2 separate regions of the Homo sapiens genome follow, and region 2 is linked to region 1. Evidence: promoter capture Hi-C in 16 types of primary human blood cells and fetal thymus (Javierre and others, 2016). All regions are on one chromosome and are shown on one strand. Each heading gives the region's core, a stretch centred on a gene start or on the middle of the fragment in contact. The rest is flanking DNA. Distances are from core to core; before and after follow the strand shown. Region 1 holds the start of GOSR2 (golgi SNAP receptor complex member 2). Region 2 has its middle 5.7 kb from the start of WNT9B.

Region 1 (4,117 bases), core at 269-2,768:
GTATTTTCGCCTGTCCAAATGAAACACCTCATCGCCAAAATAAAAGAAACCCATAAACTTAGAAAATGAAAGAGAAAGAGGATCATCACCCTCTTATTCCTCATGCTTCAGGGCATTTCATTTCCAGGCCTTGGGAGTGTGATTTTAAGTGTTTTAATCAACAAAACTACAGCATAAGTTTGAAAGTTCTCAATAGGATAGGTATATACCTCAAAAAATTGAGAAGAGAAACTAAAACAGATACTTCTACACCAGAGTTCATAGCAGTATTATTCTCAACAGCCCAATGGTGGAAACAACTCAAGTGTCCATCAACAGATGAATGGATAACAAAATGTGGTAGACACATAAAACGGAATATTATTCCGTCATAAAACAGAATGAAATTCTGGTAACAGGCTACAATATAGATGAACCCTGAAAACATTAAGTGAAATAAGCCAGATACAAAAGGACAAATTCTGTATGACTCCACTTATATTAAGTATCTAGAATAGGTAAACTCATAGAGAGAAGTAAAACAGAGGTTACTAGGTGTTCTGGAAGGAAGAAATGAAGTGCTACTGATTAACAGGCACACTGGGATGATGAAAAAGTTCTGGAAATGGATCGTAGTGATGTAAGTTGTGAATGTACTCAATGTCACTGAATTGTACACTTAAAAATTGTTAAAACAGTAAATCTTATGTTGTGTATATTTTACAATAAAAAATAAAAATCATAAAATTCCGTCCCTCCAAAACAGGGTAAAAATCATAATTCTGCCCCCCGCCCCCAAAAATAGGGTAAGTATGGCCCCATTAATACTCAACTACGTATCTCAGCAATTCCGAAAGTGCAGGACGATGCGAATAAAGGACACTACCAAGGAATTTAAGTTATGAGAAACTAAATTACAATTTGATTTTCTTAGCGATAACCTGTAACCAGATACGATTAACAAGTAATAATAGTGAATGCTACGTGGACAGCAATTTCTTTGTACCATAAAAATGTGGTCTTTAGTATAAATCGAATAAGAATACAAATACTTTCCCGTACGTGCCCTGACTCTCCAATTAAACAGTACACTCCTACGGCCAGGGGCCGTGTCTCCTACTCCGTGTCTCCTCTCGAGGTCTACCAACCAGGAGCACCGAGTTGACAAGTGCTGGACAAAGTTTTATAACCTGCAGGTGCCAGTTTCCCGTCACCCAGTCTACCCAGCAGGTAGTCACGAACTTGCAGACCCCAGGAGTCATCTGCCCCACGTCTCCAGGCCCCAGCCTGAACCCACTGTCTGTGGCTGACCTGGGAGTCCCGCCAAGGATTAAGCACTTCGGAGGCATCCCCAGCAGTGCCCTGGCGGAAAAACTCGGCCTCTACCCTGGCTGACGTCCGAGGCCTCAGCCCCAGAAGCCAGGCTCACCTGGCCTCGCCTCGTCTAGCCCCTGCCCGCTCCCCGACCGGCCCTCACTTGTGCGTTTGCTGGAACAGGGGATCCATGTCGCCGGCCCCGCAGGCCACGGCTCCGGCTCTGGCTTCCTCGGAACACGTCCTCACAGCCCCCCTTCCGGTTTCCGGCTTCCGGTCGCAGGACCCTCCCTCCCCTGCCGGCCAGGGCTGCCCGCACGCGCGCCTTACTAGCAGTGGTTGCGAGATCGGAGAAGGGGAAGGAGAAATGAGGCCGGCGACGGAAGGATAAGTGTAGTCACAGGCTCGGCTTCACGTGAAGGGCAAGGCGGTGTACATGTTCGCTGAAGGCTAGCCTCAGGATTCAGTCAGGCGTTAGGAAGGACAATCGCGGGATACTAACGAGAGGTCCTCAGAGCAAAGTTGAAGGCGAGCCGCTATCATCTGCTGTTCTCTGCCGCAGAGAGGACTGGAGGTTCTTGCTTGGCTTCACTTTAAACCATTTAATCGGGGGTCTGGAGATTTCGCTCTTCACTGTTTTTCCTGGCGCAAGCTTTTCCTGTTTCGCATTTGTCTACTCACTCTCCCGCCTATCTACCCCCCATTCCTATTTATCCATCCAGTAAACCTACATTGAATGAGTGGTTATTATGTGTCATGTGTAAAGTAGGGAAAACCGGGTTCCTCCTGCCCTCAAAGAGGTTCTGGTCTGGGAAAGGAAATAAGATATGTATACTCTCAAAAGACAAAATTACAAGAAATGTAGTTATAGATTTTTTTTCTTTATTTTATTATTTTTTATTATTATACTTTAAGTTCTAGGGTACATGTGCACAACGTGCAGGGTTGTTACATATGTATACATGTGCCATGTTGGTGTGCTGCACCCATTAACTCGTCATTTACATTAGGTATATCTCCTAATGCTATCCCTTCCCCCTCTCCCCACCCCACAACAGGCCCCGAAGTGTGATGTCCCCCTTCCTGTGTCCAAGTGTTCTCATCGTTCAGTTCCCACCTATGAGTGAGAACATGTAATGTTTGTTTTTTTGTCCTTGCGATAGTTTGCTGAGAATGTTGGTTTCCAGCTTCATCCGTGTCCCTACAAAGGACATGAACTCATCATTTTTTATGGCTGCATAGTATTCCATGGTGTATATATGCCACATTTTCTTAATCCAGTCTGTCATTGTTGGACATTTGGGTTGGTTCCAGGTCTTTGCTATTGTGAATAGTGCTGCAATAAACATACATGTAAATGTGTCTTTATAGCAGCATGATTTATAATCCTTTGGGTATATACCCAGTAATGGGATGGCTGGGTCAAATGGTATTTCTAGTTCTAGATCCCTGAGAAATCTCCACACTGTCTTCCACAATGGTTGAACCAGTTAACAGTCCCACCAACAGTGTAAAAGTGTTCTTATTTCTCCACATCCTCTCCAGCAGCTGTTGTTTCCTGACTTTTTAATGGTCGCCATTCTAACTGGTGTGAGATGGTATCTCATTGTGGTTTTGATTTGCATTTCTCTGATGGCCAGTGATGATGAGCATTTTTTCATGTGTCTGTTGGCTGCATAAATGTCTTCTTTTGAGAAGTGTCTGTTCATATCCTTCGCCCACTTGTTGATGGGGTTGTTTGTTTTTTTCTTGTAAATTTGTTTGAGTTCATTGTAGATTCTGGATATTAGCTCTTTGTCAGATGAGTAGATTGCAAAAATTTTCTCCCATTCTGTAGGTTGCCTGTTCACTCTGATGGTAGTTTCTTTTGCTGTGCAGAAGCTCTTTAGTTTAATTAGATCCCATTTGTCAATTTTGGCTTTCGTTGTCATTGCTTTTGGTGTTTTAGACATGAAGTCCTTGCCCATGCCTATGTCCTGAATGGTATTGCCTAGGTTTTCTTCTAGGGTTTTTATGGTTTTAGGTCTAACATGTAAGTCTTTAATCCATCTTGAATTGATTTTTGTATAAGGTGTAAGGAAGGGATCCAGTTTCAGCTTTCTACATATGGCTAGCTAGTTTTCCCAGCACCATTTCAAAAACGATGGTTAGATCCCACGAAGTAGGTGGTAATGCCTTAACCGTATGCGTGTTGTCAGGCCCAAGGGCCTCTTCCATCCTTGTCAAAGGGAGTGCTAACCTTCTCTCCTTTAATACAACACAGTTACAGATCTTAACTGGCTATTTGCGATTCTAGCACCAGGCAACACCTTATTCTATAAAATAGAATGAGTATTCTGATGAGCTGAGCAGAGGAGATTATCTTTATAGACAGAAAAGGGCTGAAAAAAAAAAGCAGAAACAAAGAACAAGTTTCAAAGTTATTTTACTTGTATTGGTTAAGGCAGAAGGGACTTCCTTTATCATGGGGATATGGCTATTTTCCCTCTCTTCTGATTTCTCCTAAGGTCAGATGAGCAGCTTAATTTTGGCTTTGTGGCTTGGAACTTTAGCATGAGTGACTCTATTTTGGTTTGGCCTGTTGCGCCTAGTGCAGGAGCTCAGTCCAAACCAATGGCTTTCTATGAATTTTATTTATCAAGACAAACATTCTAGAAGGTAGAAAATCCAAAGAGATTGAGCTGAGCTGGGGGTCGTCTCTAGGAGGAGATTTAGGAGAGACTTAATGAAGGGGTGGCATTTGAGCTGGGACTGGGTTTGGACACTTCTCTGTCTCCACATAGGCTATCCCGTTTCCATCCTCCAAGCTTATCTACTATTCCTC
Region 2 (4,432 bases), core at 1,040-3,539, 77 kb after region 1:
ACCTGTCTCCATTAACCAGCCCAAGGCAGCCAGCGCTCAGGGCTGGAGCCCTCTCCTCCTCTTGTGCACACATGCACGTGCACACACACACACACACACACACACACACTTTGGAAATCACAAACATGATGAGGCTGAAAGCTTTGCTATGGCCACATCAAATCTAGCTCCAGGATGTCTGCAGACCTCTCCTTCCTCTTCCCGGCACCTGCCCCCAGGCCAGCCCACCCTGCCTGAAACAAACCCTCAGGAACCATCCGCCTTTGGTTGGCTCCATATCTCCTGTGCCTCCCAAGTGGAAATGCGGCTTCCCAGGCTGGCTCTCTCCTCTAATCTCCCTCAAACTGCACTGGAAATGAACTCTGGACCCAACAGGAAGTGGAACAGATGATGCCCCAGCAGCTCCGAGGGAAGGTGCCCATGCTGACCTGACACACAGCTGCCCAGGAGGGCTGGTCCTGGGGAGCCTGGACAGGACTGGTGTGGGTGTGGGCTCACCTGTCCCTCTCCCTGTCCTTCCCCATCCTCCAGGTGACCTGGCCTTCTTGTCATAGCCTTATGATGACTGGCTGAGTCCTGACCACTCCCATCAGTCCTAGCCCCACATACTTGAACTGTATTGGCAATGCCCTTGCAACATTGCACTAGCATTGACTCTGGAGCACTGTGAGGTAGCATGTGGGCCATGATTGTCCCCATTATACAGATGAGGGCACTAAAGTCCAGAAAGATGAATGACTTCCTCAAGGTCATAGAACTCACTGGCTCTCGGGGATGGAAGACTTGATTTTTCTGGAACACCAGACTGAAATAGGACTGAAGCTAAGTGGGGAAAGTGGGCTTCAGAATCCCCTCCAGGGAACTCACAGCCATGCCTGAAAATGACAAAAAAGGGGGCAGAGAAGGACACCAAAATGTTAATAGGGGCTGCCTTGGAGGTTGGGAGTGTGGGGTAAGAAATGTTTTTATCTTCCTTGCATTTTCCTAGTTTTCTATGACAAGAATGTTTGACATTTATAATGAAAAAAATTACTGAAAGTGGGGAGGAGAAAAATACATAACAATACATCTCCAATGGTGGAACTTTAAGCATTTGCAGGAAAGGTATTTGGGAGGGGCAGGGCAGTATTTCTGGACTGGAGTCCTCTGTGACCTTCACTCATCTGTCCTTCTGCGGGAAGGGCCCCTGTCCTATCTTGGGAAGCTCACTCCAGAGCTGGCAGAGCTCACCACTCCCCATGGCACTTCCAGTTCGAGGCCTTCTCACTTCTGTTCCTCCCTCCCTCCCTCTTCTTCCTCACAGAACTCTTTGAATTGTGTTGTGAGGACGGTGTGGGACCCACCTTCTCTTGCCCCTTGCCTATTCAAGGCCATTCTCCAGCCCTTTATCCAGCAGCATCTTTGAGTTCAGCCAAGGCAGGCTGAATGCAGAGAAGCAGCCCTTTGGTGGCCCCCCACCCAGCCATGCTTCTGTGGCCAAGGGCAGCTGGAACCCCACCTTGACTGACAATTCCTGCCTCTGCTCACTCACCACATTGGTTCTACAACCTTTATTGGCACAACTGTACTTTGTGCCAGTGCCTATGTTGATATACACTGTCCTTGAGTTTGGGAGATTAGGCATCCCTGCTATGTGTAGACTGCAGACACCTCAAGATCTGAGACCCTGTCCCCTGTTTCTTTTCTATCCCACACTTCCTCCCATAGTGGTACTGAGTTTCAGCCCACAGTAAAAACATTGTTAAATAACTGAATTAATGAATGAATAACTGAATGAATAAACATTGGACTGTGGAAGGTCAGACCTGACTTATTGATGGCTACAAACCCTGCCTCTGATTTTATAATGTTCATGAGAGACAGGATGAGCCATCTGTACTGAAACGGTTGAAACTAGCAGGAGTGCTTTGAGCAGTCCAGTTCTGTCTAGTAGTTATAGGTAAGTAAGTAGTGACCTGGAGGAGAACTCTCAATTTCAGATAACATGGCCGGGCACGGTGGTTCACACCTATAATCCCAGAACTTTGGGAGGCTGAAGTGGGTGGAGCACCTGAGATCAGGAGTTCAAGACCACCCTGGCCAACATGGCAAAACCCCATCTCTGCTGAAAATACAAAAATTAGCTGGGCCTGGTGGCAGGTGCCTGTAATCCCAGCTACTCAGATGGCTGAAGCAGGAGAATCGCTTGAACTCAGGAGGCGGAGTTTGCAGTGAAAGGAGACCACACCACTGCACTCTAGCCTGGAGGACAGAACGAGATTTGATCTCAAAAAAAAAAAAAAAAAAAAAAAGCCAGCACAGTGGCTCACACGTGTAATCCCTGCACTTTGGGAGGCCGAGGTGGTTGGATCACAAGGTCAGGAGTTTGAGAGCAGCCTGGCCAAGATGGTGAAACCCATCTCTACTAAAAATACAAAAGTTAGCCAGGTGTGGTGGCGGGCACCTGTAGTCCCCAGCTACTCGGGAGGCCAAGGCAGGAAAATCGTTTGAACCCAGGAGGCAGAGGTTGCAGTGAGCCGAGATTGTGCCACTGCACTCTGGCCAGGGTGACAGAGCAAGACTCTGTCTCAAAAAAAAAAAAAAAAAAAAAATTCAGATAACTCACTCCATTGTCCCTGTAAGTCGACTCATGTATGTCAGGTGACATATATGTCCAAGCTCTGTTTGGGCACTGGGCTCACCGTGAATATAACCCCCACCCCAGCCCTGGTTACCACTTCCAGGAGCATAGAATACAGTGAGCTGACCTAGAGACTAGGAGATGGCTGGGCAGGTGGCACGGAGCAGCAGGGCATTCTGTCTTCAACCACCGTGAAGTCCCCTATGGGCAAAGCACTAGTGAAAGACTCTACGTTGGGGTGTTTTACAACAGAAAGGCATTCCACACAGGACATAGCTATGGATACTGCTCAAAAGAAGGAGGAAGGAGACCAGGCACTGTGGCTTACGCCTGTAATCCAAGCACTTTGGGAGGCCGAGGCGAGTGGATCACCTGAGGTCAGGAGTTCCAGACCAGACTGGTCAACATGGTGAAACCCCATCTCTACTAAAAATACAAAAAATTAGCCAGGTGTGGTGGTGCATGCCGGTAGTCCCAGCTACTTAGAAGGCTGAGGCAGGAGAGTTGCTTGCAGCTGGGAGGCGGAGGTTGCAGTGAGCAGAGATCCCACCATTGCACTCCAGCCCTGGGGCAACAAGAGCAAAACTCCATCTCCAAAAAATAAAAAAGAAAGAAAGAAGAAAGAGGAAGGAAGGAAGGAAGGAAGGGAAGGAGGGAGGCAAGAAAACAACTTTCTTAGGGACTAGAAGTTTAAAAATATGCCATAATTTACTATAAATAACATCCTATAGATTTGGGTCTGCACAGAGGCATTCTCAACATCTTTTAGTTTGTTTTCATCTGAGTAAGTTCTTGCTCTCTAAACTCTCTAAAAAGAAGGACGAGAGGAAAGGGGTCCCATCTTGAAGTTCATAGGTGCCTAGAGGAATGCAATCCTTTGCAGTTAGTTTTAGAAATCGGCCACCACCACACCATTTCCTCCAGGTCATATTATCAGAACTGCAGGTACAAATAAGTTTACAGGAAGTGCTCATTAACTGTGTCCTGACTGGTAGACAGTTGGACCATAGCACGTTTTCCTGAACTCATGGTAGGACTGCAGTGGCCCAGCCAGATGTTTTTCTTTAAACAAAGGAGAGACTCGAACCTTGGTTTATCTCTGGGAAGCAGTAAGCTGAGGCTTAACTTATCAAAAAAAAAAAAAAAAAAAAGGTGGCTAACTCCACCTCACTGCATATTTTCTACTTTATATAAAGTATAGGCTGGATACAGTGGCTCATGCCTATAATCCTAGCATTCTGGGAGACTGAGGCAGGAGGATTGCTTGAGGCCAGGAGTTCAAGACCAGCCTCAGCAACACAGTGAGACCCTGCTAATACAAAAAAGAAAAAAAAAATTAGCCAGGCATTGTGGCACATGCCTGTAGTCCCAGCTACCCTGGAGGCTGAGATGGGAGGATTTCTTGAGCATGGGAAGTTGCAACTGCAATGAGCCATGATGCCACCACTGCACTCCAGAGCAAGAACTGCAACAGAGCAAGAACCTTGTCTTAGAAAAAATAATAATAAAGTATGAATACATAATATTCAGTTTAACATACTTTGAATAAGCATCTGGTGCTAAACCCTGGAATAGGAGATGATGAAGTCAGTTCTTGTCCTTGAGGAGCACACAGTTTGTTGGGAAAGACACATAAATAAATACAGAGAGCATTCTGACATATCTATATAAGTGTAAACTAGTTATTGAGCACTTACATTACACCAGGTATTGTTCTAAGTCCTATAAAACTGTTAACCCATTTAATGCTCACAGCATTTTACAAATGAGGAAATGGGCACAGAGAAGTCAAGTAACTGGCCAGCTAGTAAG

What was found. The method cuts DNA at HindIII sites, captures the fragments that hold promoters and counts their contacts. A CHiCAGO score of 5 or more calls a contact.
Region 2: a fragment that was not itself captured here is called in contact with the fragment with the promoter of GOSR2 in region 1 in 6 of 17 cell types (megakaryocytes, endothelial precursors, M0 macrophages and 3 more); the score reaches 8.4 in megakaryocytes.

What each region holds. Positions count from the first base shown.
Region 1 is chr17:46,920,561-46,924,677 of GRCh38, reverse strand. GOSR2 (golgi SNAP receptor complex member 2) reads right to left here and starts at 1,518. Exons shown (of 6, transcript NM_004287.5): 1 at 1,457-1,518. The coding sequence starts at 1,485. GOSR2-DT (GOSR2 divergent transcript) reads left to right here and starts at 1,807. Exons shown (of 3, transcript NR_186460.1): 1 at 1,807-1,867. It also overlaps a transcript of LRRC37A2 not described here and the pseudogene RNU6ATAC3P. RefSeq lists an enhancer at 818-1,542. The HindIII fragment of the contact is 7,846 bases long and covers 1-1,947 here.
Region 2 is chr17:46,843,645-46,848,076 of GRCh38, reverse strand. It overlaps a transcript of LRRC37A2 not described here and a transcript of WNT9B not described here. Among named protein-coding and RNA genes, the nearest start is that of WNT9B, 5.7 kb to the left of the region's middle. RefSeq lists a silencer at 3,028-3,193. The HindIII fragment of the contact is 4,291 bases long and covers 144-4,432 here.